Regions from separate parts of the Homo sapiens genome. Here region 1 is linked to region 2. The links are contacts of gene promoters, found by promoter capture Hi-C in human tissues and cell types (Jung and others, 2019). All regions are on one chromosome and are shown on one strand. Each heading gives the region's core, a stretch centred on a gene start or on the middle of the fragment in contact. The rest is flanking DNA. Distances are from core to core; before and after follow the strand shown.

Region 1 (4,324 bases), core at 1,475-3,974, 280 kb before region 2:
TTCCACATCTGAAAAATAGAGACAGTAAGAGTAGCTGCCTTGTTTGGAATAGAAAATGTATTGCAGGTAAAGCACTTGGCACAGTGTCTGGCCTGCAGTAAGTGCTGCGGCGTTGGCTGATGCCAGCACTTCTGAATGTTCTATCGCGTTTCCAATGGTTAGAAATTGATTTGGGGAAGGAGCATCCGTGAAGAGCAAGCAGGGAAATGAGAGGCAGCCATAAAGGCATCTGAGCAGGTGCAGAGAAGGAGGAGGAAAGCCGGGAAGAGCTGAAGAAACCATGTGTGGCTTTCAAGCAAGAAAGCAGCTCAGCAGGGCCACGTGACCAGTGAAGTCGTAGAAGGTGAGGGCAGAGCCGTCCGCCAATGCGGGGAACCTTTGCACAAGGTAACACAGCTGACACACCACCTCCACCTGCCCGCTCCTCTGCTTACCCCCTGCTTAGCCCAAATTCTAGCAATATGCATTCTTTTGAGTTTTTCAGTGGTCCCCTTCTGTATGAAATTCTCTTTTTTCTTTTTATGAACACATAATGTATGCCTCTCCTCTTAGCAAATTATAATTCTTCTTTCTTGGTTCCAGGGGATTTTGCCCATCTGTTCCCATTTCCCTCTTCACTTGCCAACATGTGCTTCTTCAGATCCAAGGAACTGCCTTTCCCTGAATTCCTCTGCTGGCCTCCAAAAATCCTTCCGGAGTAAGGCGTTGTATACACAAACAAACATGGAAATGACTCTCATGGCATCTTGGCTCCTTTCTCCTTCCTTCTCTGGCTCAAATGTCAAGAACACATGTGCATTCCAACTGCTAGATACCAGCCTCCTTTCTCCCAGGCCCTGGACAGCTGCCTGGTCTAGCATGGCTTAGTCAGGGGCCCTTATCACACTGACAACAGAGAGTTAAAGCCATCATTTTCTCTTCTGCCACCATCTCTTTCCTTCCTTTCCCCAAATCAAAACTTCAGAAAATGCTTTCACTCAATCCACAGAACCGTGACCAAAGGCCTGCGGTAGGTCTGGCAAGCATTGCAGAAAGACTAGAAACAAACTTGGCAGGGGAATCAGAAGACCTCAGTTGCAGACTGGCTTCCCCAGTTGTGGGACTTTTGTCAAGTAACCTGCCTTCTATCAGCCTAAGTTTTCGACTCTGCAAAATGGGGGCAATGATATTATATCATCAAAGGGCTATTGTGAGTAGAAAATGAAATAAGGAAGGTGGACATGCCTGCAATATGGTTGGCTCCTAGCAGATGTTCAGTAAATAGTCAAATTCAAATTAGAGAGGTATAATTAGGCTGCAGAAATGGGAGCAAAATGGGTATTTATTGATTAATAATGGGTATCATCTGCTGTTTTGAGCTCTGCCTGCATCTTCTCTACCAAATCCACTTTATTCAAAGAACTAACCAACAGCCACACTGGGCATGCACTATGTGGCTGCTACTTGGACTAAACTTTGCTCTCCAAGAGCTCTGGAGTGGACTAAATTACGGCCAAATCCCTAGGACCTGTGAATGTTACCTTATATAGTAAATTTTCTGGAGATGTGATTAAGTTGGGATCTTAGAATGAGGAGATTGTCTAGGTGGGCTCTAAATGCTATCACATGTGTGTTATAAGAGAGAGGTAAAGGAGATGAGACAGAAGACGAGGCGACAATGTGACCGTGGAGGCAGAGATCAGTGTGATGTGGCCACAAGACAAAGAGGCTTCCACCAGAAGCTGGAAGAGGCCAGGGACAGACGCTCCCCAGAGTTTCCAGGAACATGGCACTGCCAACACGAGGATTTTGAACTTGTACCTTATAGAGCTGTGAGAGAATACATTTCAGTTGTTTTAAGCCACAAAGTTTGCGGTACTATGTTACTGCAGCCACAGGAAACTAACACAAGCTTTTAGTTAAGCACGGAAACTGACACATACACAATTAGCGCGCCTGTAATCCCAGCTACTCGGGAGGCTAAGGCACAGGAGAATCGCTTGAACCTGGGAGATGGAGGTTGCAGTGAGCTGAGATTGTGCCACTGCACTCCAGATTGGATGAGAGAGCAAGACTCCGACTCAAAAACAAAAAAAATAATTAAAGATGAGGTAAACTGAGTCTCAGAAAGGCTAAATAACTTAATGAAGGTCACACAGCTGGTGGGGGACCTGGGAGTTCAACTTGAACCTTTCCAGCTCTAAAGAGTGTGCTGCTAACCATTATGGTGCCCTTTCCCTCTATTAGTAAAATGTGGTAGGCAGAATGGCACCCCCAGAAGAATTAAGAGGCACCCTCACCTCCTTGGAACAGGCTGCTGCGAAGCCTCAGTCACTAACTCAGCTGAACCTTCCTTGATCCTAGTCATAGGTCACCAAGTGTCTGCACAGGGCGTTTGCTGCAAAGTCTAGACCTTGAGGAACCTGCCAGTATTTTATAACTATGCTCAGGGAGAAGGGAGACCAAGCAGAATGTCTACAGTCTTTCTGGCCTAGGGAGACTCACACTTGAAGTCCCGGGTAGCCATAGCTGTGGGGAAGGACAGAACAAGCAGGCAGAGACTCTGGGAGGCAGAGTCAGGATGCGTGAGAACAGATGGCTTCATGGCCAGGTAGGAGCGCCCCGCAGCTAGAACAGTGCATGGCGGGCAAGGAGGAAGACGAGCTGCTGGGTTTGGCAGCCCTCACCTGTTATGATGACTTCATCCCCGTCCAGCAGAAACTTCCTGGTCTGACCATTCCCCAGGTCTATGGGCTTCGTTCCCTTCCACGACAGTTCCAACATGGAGCCGAAGTTTTCTGGCTCCTTCATCACAGGAAAGGGAAGAAAGAATAACATGAATTTATGCCTTGGCTCTGGCATGGACCATGCTCAGCAAGACCTGGGAGTCCCGAGAAGTGGCAGGGGGCCCTCATGCCCCTCAGAGACCCTGCCTCGGCCTTGGTGGGATCACTGCAGAGATGCCTTTGAGACATGGAACTCTGCCCCTTCTTCCTGTGGGGACAGCAATGGTTCCACTAAGGACATCGCTTGTTTAGGAATCAGTGAATCCCTGACCAGAGTGCCCAGTGCCCCCTGCAGCATCCCCTCCCTGCTCTGGAGGCTGCAGTTTGCCCAGATATCGTGATGCTTAACACCCTCCTGTCGACAGCTCAAGGAACAAGAGGGCTCGGCCAGCCCCCTGCAGGAAGTGAGTGACACATGCACCACCCCAAGGTCATCATCTCTGAAGGTTCTGTGACTCCCGCAGGCTTACAGGGGGACAAGCGGGTGGGAAGGGGCACAGCAGCATGGCCACCTCATCCTGGGAGGGTGTAGTGTGAGATGGTGACAACCAAGACACTATCACTGTCTCCTGACTCCTCCCCACGTGTCACTGCGCTGCTCCCCTACAGAGGCAGAGACCCAGGCTTCCGTTCTCACACCAGTCTCTTTAGGTTTGAATTTGGATGAGAAGTCCCTCCTGCACCCAGAGAGAAAGGCTACGAGGAAGACAGAGTTGTGAGATACACCCACCTCGGGCCTGAAATCTCTTCTCGAGGCTGAGCTGAGGGCCCTTGGGGCTGTGTGGGGAGCAGGGATGCTCTGCGTGGGCAGCCCTCAGTGCAGCCAGATACTCACCGGCCCGCTGATGGTCCCAGAAGCCAGGAGGTCCCCCGGCCGCAGGTTGCAGCCGTTGACAGAGTGGTGAGTGAGCTGCTGCAGCATCGTCCAGTACATGTACTGCAGGCAATGGACGCGAGGTGGAATGAGCAGCGGCAGGCTTAGCCTAGCATCCCGGAGGCAGCTGGGCACAGCCTGCCCTGCTCACGACCGCCTTCCCTGGCCTTTCCCCGGTCCCCAGCTCCCCCAGCCAGCTCTCTCCAGTCCCTTATAGTAAGGACACATTGTCCTCCTGGGGAGCTGCCCAGAGACCTCCCCCAAGCTCTTCCATCTCCTTCACAAACTCCAACCTCAGCTCCTCTGCTACCTCAAGCCCACACTGACCACCTTCTCCAAGCAGCATCCCCTAAGGGCTGACCTTACTGCTCAGTCCCTCAGCCTGCAACATGCCCTTGTGTACAACACTCCACTCTGCCCTGGGAACACCCTCCAGTCCCGTATTGGGAGAATCTAAGTCCACACCACAGCAGAGGCTTCTCGTGAGCAAAGCCCTCGCTCCCATTCTCCCATGCCGGGCCTTGGGATGGACACTGGGCAATGGAGCTGAACGATTCAAACACGATGTCAGGGCAGGCCAAGGAGCGAGGGAGAGCTGTGGGCGGTCAGGCTGTGGGCAGAGGGGGCCAAGGCACCACGTGCCCACCGAGACGCTCAGATGCAATGCACGCCCATGCCTGTCCCA
Region 2 (4,467 bases), core at 1,159-3,658:
TTGAAGGTTTGTTATGAAAAAAACTATCTCATTAGTGATTTGACATTGATTACATACAGAAATCATTATCACTAAATATATCTTAAAAATTAATTTTTCCTATTTTTGTACTTTTTAAAATGTGGCTACCAAAAATTAAAATTACAGATGTAGGCCACACTGTGTTTCTGTTACACAATGCTCCTTTAGAGGGATAGAAGATTATTTGCATTATTTAAATGAAAATATTTTTGCTTTTTATTCCAGCATACTTAATCTCCAATGATTTTTAAAATGTTAAATTTATTCTCTCATAGGAAAATGGCTTTGTAAAGAAGCTTGAGCCTAAATCTGGCTGGATGACTTTTCTAGAAGTTACAGGAAAGATCTGTGAAATGCTCTTCTGTCCTGAAGCAATACTGTTGACCAGAAAGGACACTCCATATTGTGAAACCGGCCTAATTTTTCTGACTCTTACGAAAACGATTGCCAACACATACTTCTACTTTTAAATAAACAACTTTGATGATGTAACTTGACCTTCCAGAGTTACAGAAATTTTGTCCCTATTTAATGAATAAATTGTATGTATTTTTCTCTATATGCCATTTTTGTCTTCAGTTTTGGAGTCTGGCTGGAAATTCAGCCAAAGGGTAAAAGCTCAACACAGGATCCAGGCAATTAATTATGGGATGATGACCAGGAAGGCGGTGTCTTTTCTGCCCCAGGCAGACTTTTAAGGTGTGCCATTACCCCAAAAGTCCTTTTCTGTGTCACTAGGCTAGACTGCAGACTAGACTGAGAAGCGGACTCAGGCTAGAAGCAGACTCAGGTCGGCTTCCCTCTTCCCTCCTTCCTTCCCATGCTTTCTGCAGTTTCCAGTGCCCCTGGCTGCTTAAGAGTTTCCATTGATGCCTCCTCCCCAGCCTTCTCTCTCTGGCTTGCCATTTGGGGTTGATGGATATGGCAACCTGATATGCAGGATACTCTGGGATATTCTGAACAAAGAAAATTGGTAAATGATTCAACGTGGAGCTAGTGTTAATTTTAATTTTTATTTTTTGGTAAAAATGAACAGATTAGAAAAGTACGTAGTTTGTTAGACCTCGTGTTCTAACTTTTAGGTCAGCAAATCTAATTGCACTATGTATACGCTGTACCTGCCTGGCCTTCCCTTTTTCTTACAACACAGTCCCCCTGGGACTTGCATTAGCTTTCCCTGGAAGCTGTTGATAGATTCCATAAAGAAGCCAGAACTCCCCTCTCAAGCCATGTGCATTCTCACCGGGCACTTAATTAATGCTTTACCTAGGAGGTGTGATTCTTAACGGTGGGGATTAAGACACTGGGGCGGTCAGTAGGGACGTATTTTTGGCAGAGACAGCTCTGGTTTTCTTAGGAAGTCACATCTGAGAGGCAACCGTCTATGCCATCTGAGGCGCCTGTCTACTGGGAGCAGTTTAAGACTTAACAGTTTCTTTTACCTCTTCCTGCAAGTGCCTCACCCACCCCCCAACTGCTTTTAGTTTTAATTCATTTTTGTGTTTTAATCAGAGCTGAGTGGTGGGAATGAACAGTCACTGATGGTTATAACAGGAAGTACCTATGTGGGCACTATTACCTGGAATACATTCACACTAGAAACCCGCAAAATTTGGCTTTTACACTACAGTTATTGCTTTAGCAGTGTTCCCGATTATGTATCATCTATACATTCATCACATAAGGACATTTCCATCAACCACTGTGGTCCCTTAAGATTATAATGGAGCTGAAAAATTCCTAATACCTACTGATGTGGTAGCCAACCAACACATTACCTTTTCTGTGTTTAGATACACAAGTATCACGGTGCTTACAATTGCCTACAGTATTCGGTACAAAATACGCTGTACAGGTGTGTAGCATAGGTGTGTAGTAACTTTGTGTAACTACACTCTGATGTTTGCACAAGAAGGAAATCGGGGCATCTGTCAGACCTATCCCTGTAGTTAAGCGACTCGTGACGATTTCGCTACATGTCCTGCCTTGCCCTTCTTTTCTGGCCCCTGAAGTCCCACTACTGAACAGTACAAGAGATGCCAGGCACCGTGGGTACTGCCGGCCATCTTTACCATCCCCGCCAGTGGCGCTGCCGCCTCCGCGGTCCCGGTGAGGGCCCAGGCTCAGGGAGGTCAGGCGGCAGGGCAGCGACGGCGCCTCGCCACCGCTCCCCTAACCGGGGAGGGCGAGCCGGACCACGGGGACCGCACGAGGGCTGGGTCCCAAGGGCCAGAGGCGAGGTAAGCGCGCGGCGCGCCGCGGGCCCGCGTCCCGGAAGCGGGGTGGGGGCGCTTCCCCGAGCCCCGACCCGCCCCTAGGCCGCGGATCCACCTGGGAGCGGCCAGGGGCGGAGACCGAACCCGAGGGCGCCCAGGGCGCCGAGGGCGGGACTGGACTCGGCTTGGGCGTGAGATGGCGGCGGCAGCGGTGAGCAGCGCCAAGCGGAGCCTGCGGGGAGAGCTGAAGCAGCGTCTGCGGGCGATGAGTGCCGAGGAGCGGCTACGCCAGTCCCGCGTACTGAGCCAGAAGGTGCGAGGCCGCCCGTAGCGGAAGCCGCGGCGGACAGACCCTCCGAAGGCCTGGCGGCCAGCGATTGCTGATCTGTGCATGGTCCGTGCTGGCGCTGGGCTAGGCGCCCCCCCACCCCCCGGCGCGCGCACGTTTCCCCTCCCGGCGCGCGCACGCCCCCTAGTCGTGGTCTGGACGCTCTTGGCACTATGGCGGGGAGAGGGCCCGGTAGTGAAAGTTGTGGGGCTAAAGAGCGAGAGGACGGCAGGGGTTGACAGATTTATCTCTGGGAGGGGAGTTTGTTTGCATGGGTGGCTCTTTTGGTGCTCGAAAACCCTCCGTGGGGATGACGGTGCTGTGGTGAGAGCACGGTGAGAACAGAAAGTTGTGGTAGAGGAGATGGGTGAACACCTGAGTGCCCAGGTTCCCTCAGTGAGGCCTAAAGTTAATGAGCTACGAGTAAGACTCCGGTTATATTAGTAAAATGGCCAGAGAAAGATGCAGGTGCTTTAGACGAGGGAACACCAAAAAAGGTGTGGAGATGCCAAAGGGCAGAACTCAGAGGTTGACTGGACTTCACTAAGCATATGGAGGGCTAAGGCTGTGTCTCAGTAGCTCCAGGGCCTAGGCTTTTCCTGTCTCAGAGTTGGTCAACATTAAATGCTTTTTCTTGAGTGAACGAAAGGAAGACTTGGCTATCATATCCAGGCTTCCCAAGAACGTAGGAAACAGAAGAGAGAAATGAGAGGAATAAGTGAGGGTCCGTGTTTGTTGGTTAGCAGACCTCTGTTTCATTACTTTCACCAACTGCACTGCTATGTATTTTTAGTCTATGTAATGTCAGTTTTCTTATCAATAAAATGGCAGTCATATCCTGTTGTGAAGGCATGTTCTAAAGAGTTTTTGGGGACTCATTTTTGTTAGACACCAGAGGAAGAAAAATTTAATGTCCCCTGAATAAGTACGTATTTGTAATTCTGTTGTAAGTCAAACTGATGATCTGTCTTCCCAGCATCATGCTTCAGAGACACCAGATATTTGGAAACTTGATGTTCCTTGGAATTAGTTATACCATCAGGCTTTCTTAATTACCCTTCACTATTCTATTATCCGTTATTTACTCAAATTCAAGGTGCCTATGGGTTAAAGCAGTAAAGCATATATGCTCATTTCACCCCTCTCTTCATCTATGTAGGTGTGTATGAGGGAATCTATACAGATGTTAATTCGTTCGTTCAAACAGAATTATTTTAGCTATTATGAGGAAGCATTGCTGGGTGTTTTAGTAGATGTAAAGGATATAGACTCTTGTCCTTACTATCTAGTTGTTTAAAATTTAGCTAATTCATTCACATATGTTGAACACCTATGTAGTGCACACTTGGCTATATACTGGGTTGTGGAGATGAAAAAGATATGATTGTTGCTCTAAAGGAGCAGAGAGCCTAGAAGAGGAAACAGACATGAATAAAGAATTGCATTGAAGCCAGATATATGATAAAGGTAAACACCAATGTTGTGGAAACATAGCCTTGGGGAGGGGAAATTGGAAAGCTTTCTATTGGAAAATGTTTGAGATGAATTTCGGAGAACAAGATGAATTCTTTCAGGTGAAGGGAAAGATGGGATAGGGGAGTGTGAGTAGGGATATTTAGGCAAGAGATGACAGGATACAGTTTAGCATGGGCTTTGGAACTGCACAGATCTGGGCTGAATCTGGCGCCATTGTTTTTTAACTGTATATCCTTGGACAGGTCTCATAATCTCTCAGAACCTTTGGTTCCTTGTCTATAAAATGGATAATATCACTCTTGTAGGTCGATTGTGAGAGTTAAAGAAGTGTGTAAAGGGATGTATTCAGAGCTTTACCTATTGTTTGTTATGTCCTTTAGGAAGAGTATAATGGCAGCATTTGGATAATGGGTTGAGGAAGGAAGA

The links. The method cuts DNA at HindIII sites, captures the fragments that hold promoters and counts their contacts. A contact is called where the count stands out against the background at its distance.
Region 1: a fragment that was not itself captured here is called in contact with the fragment with the promoter of MTHFS in region 2 in 3 of the 25 tissues and cell types used here (H1 embryonic stem cells, lymphoblastoid cells and thymus).

What each region holds. Positions count from the first base shown.
Region 1 is chr15:80,179,502-80,183,825 of GRCh38, reverse strand. It overlaps FAH (fumarylacetoacetate hydrolase), which reads right to left. Exons shown (of 14, transcript NM_000137.4): 12 at 3,601-3,702; 13 at 2,667-2,784. Among named protein-coding and RNA genes, the nearest start is that of FAH, 29 kb to the right of the region's middle. The HindIII fragment of the contact is 7,164 bases long and covers 1-4,324 here.
Region 2 is chr15:79,894,955-79,899,421 of GRCh38, reverse strand. It overlaps MTHFS (methenyltetrahydrofolate synthetase), which reads left to right and starts at 2,408. Exons shown (of 3, transcript NM_006441.4): 1 at 2,408-2,550. The coding sequence starts at 2,434. The region is part of intron 2 of ST20-MTHFS (ST20-MTHFS readthrough); the gene reads left to right. ST20 (suppressor of tumorigenicity 20) reads left to right here. Exons shown (of 3, transcript NR_037653.2): 3 at 297-580. RefSeq lists an enhancer at 1,910-1,959 and a silencer at 2,100-2,399. The HindIII fragment of the contact is 7,261 bases long and covers 1-4,467 here.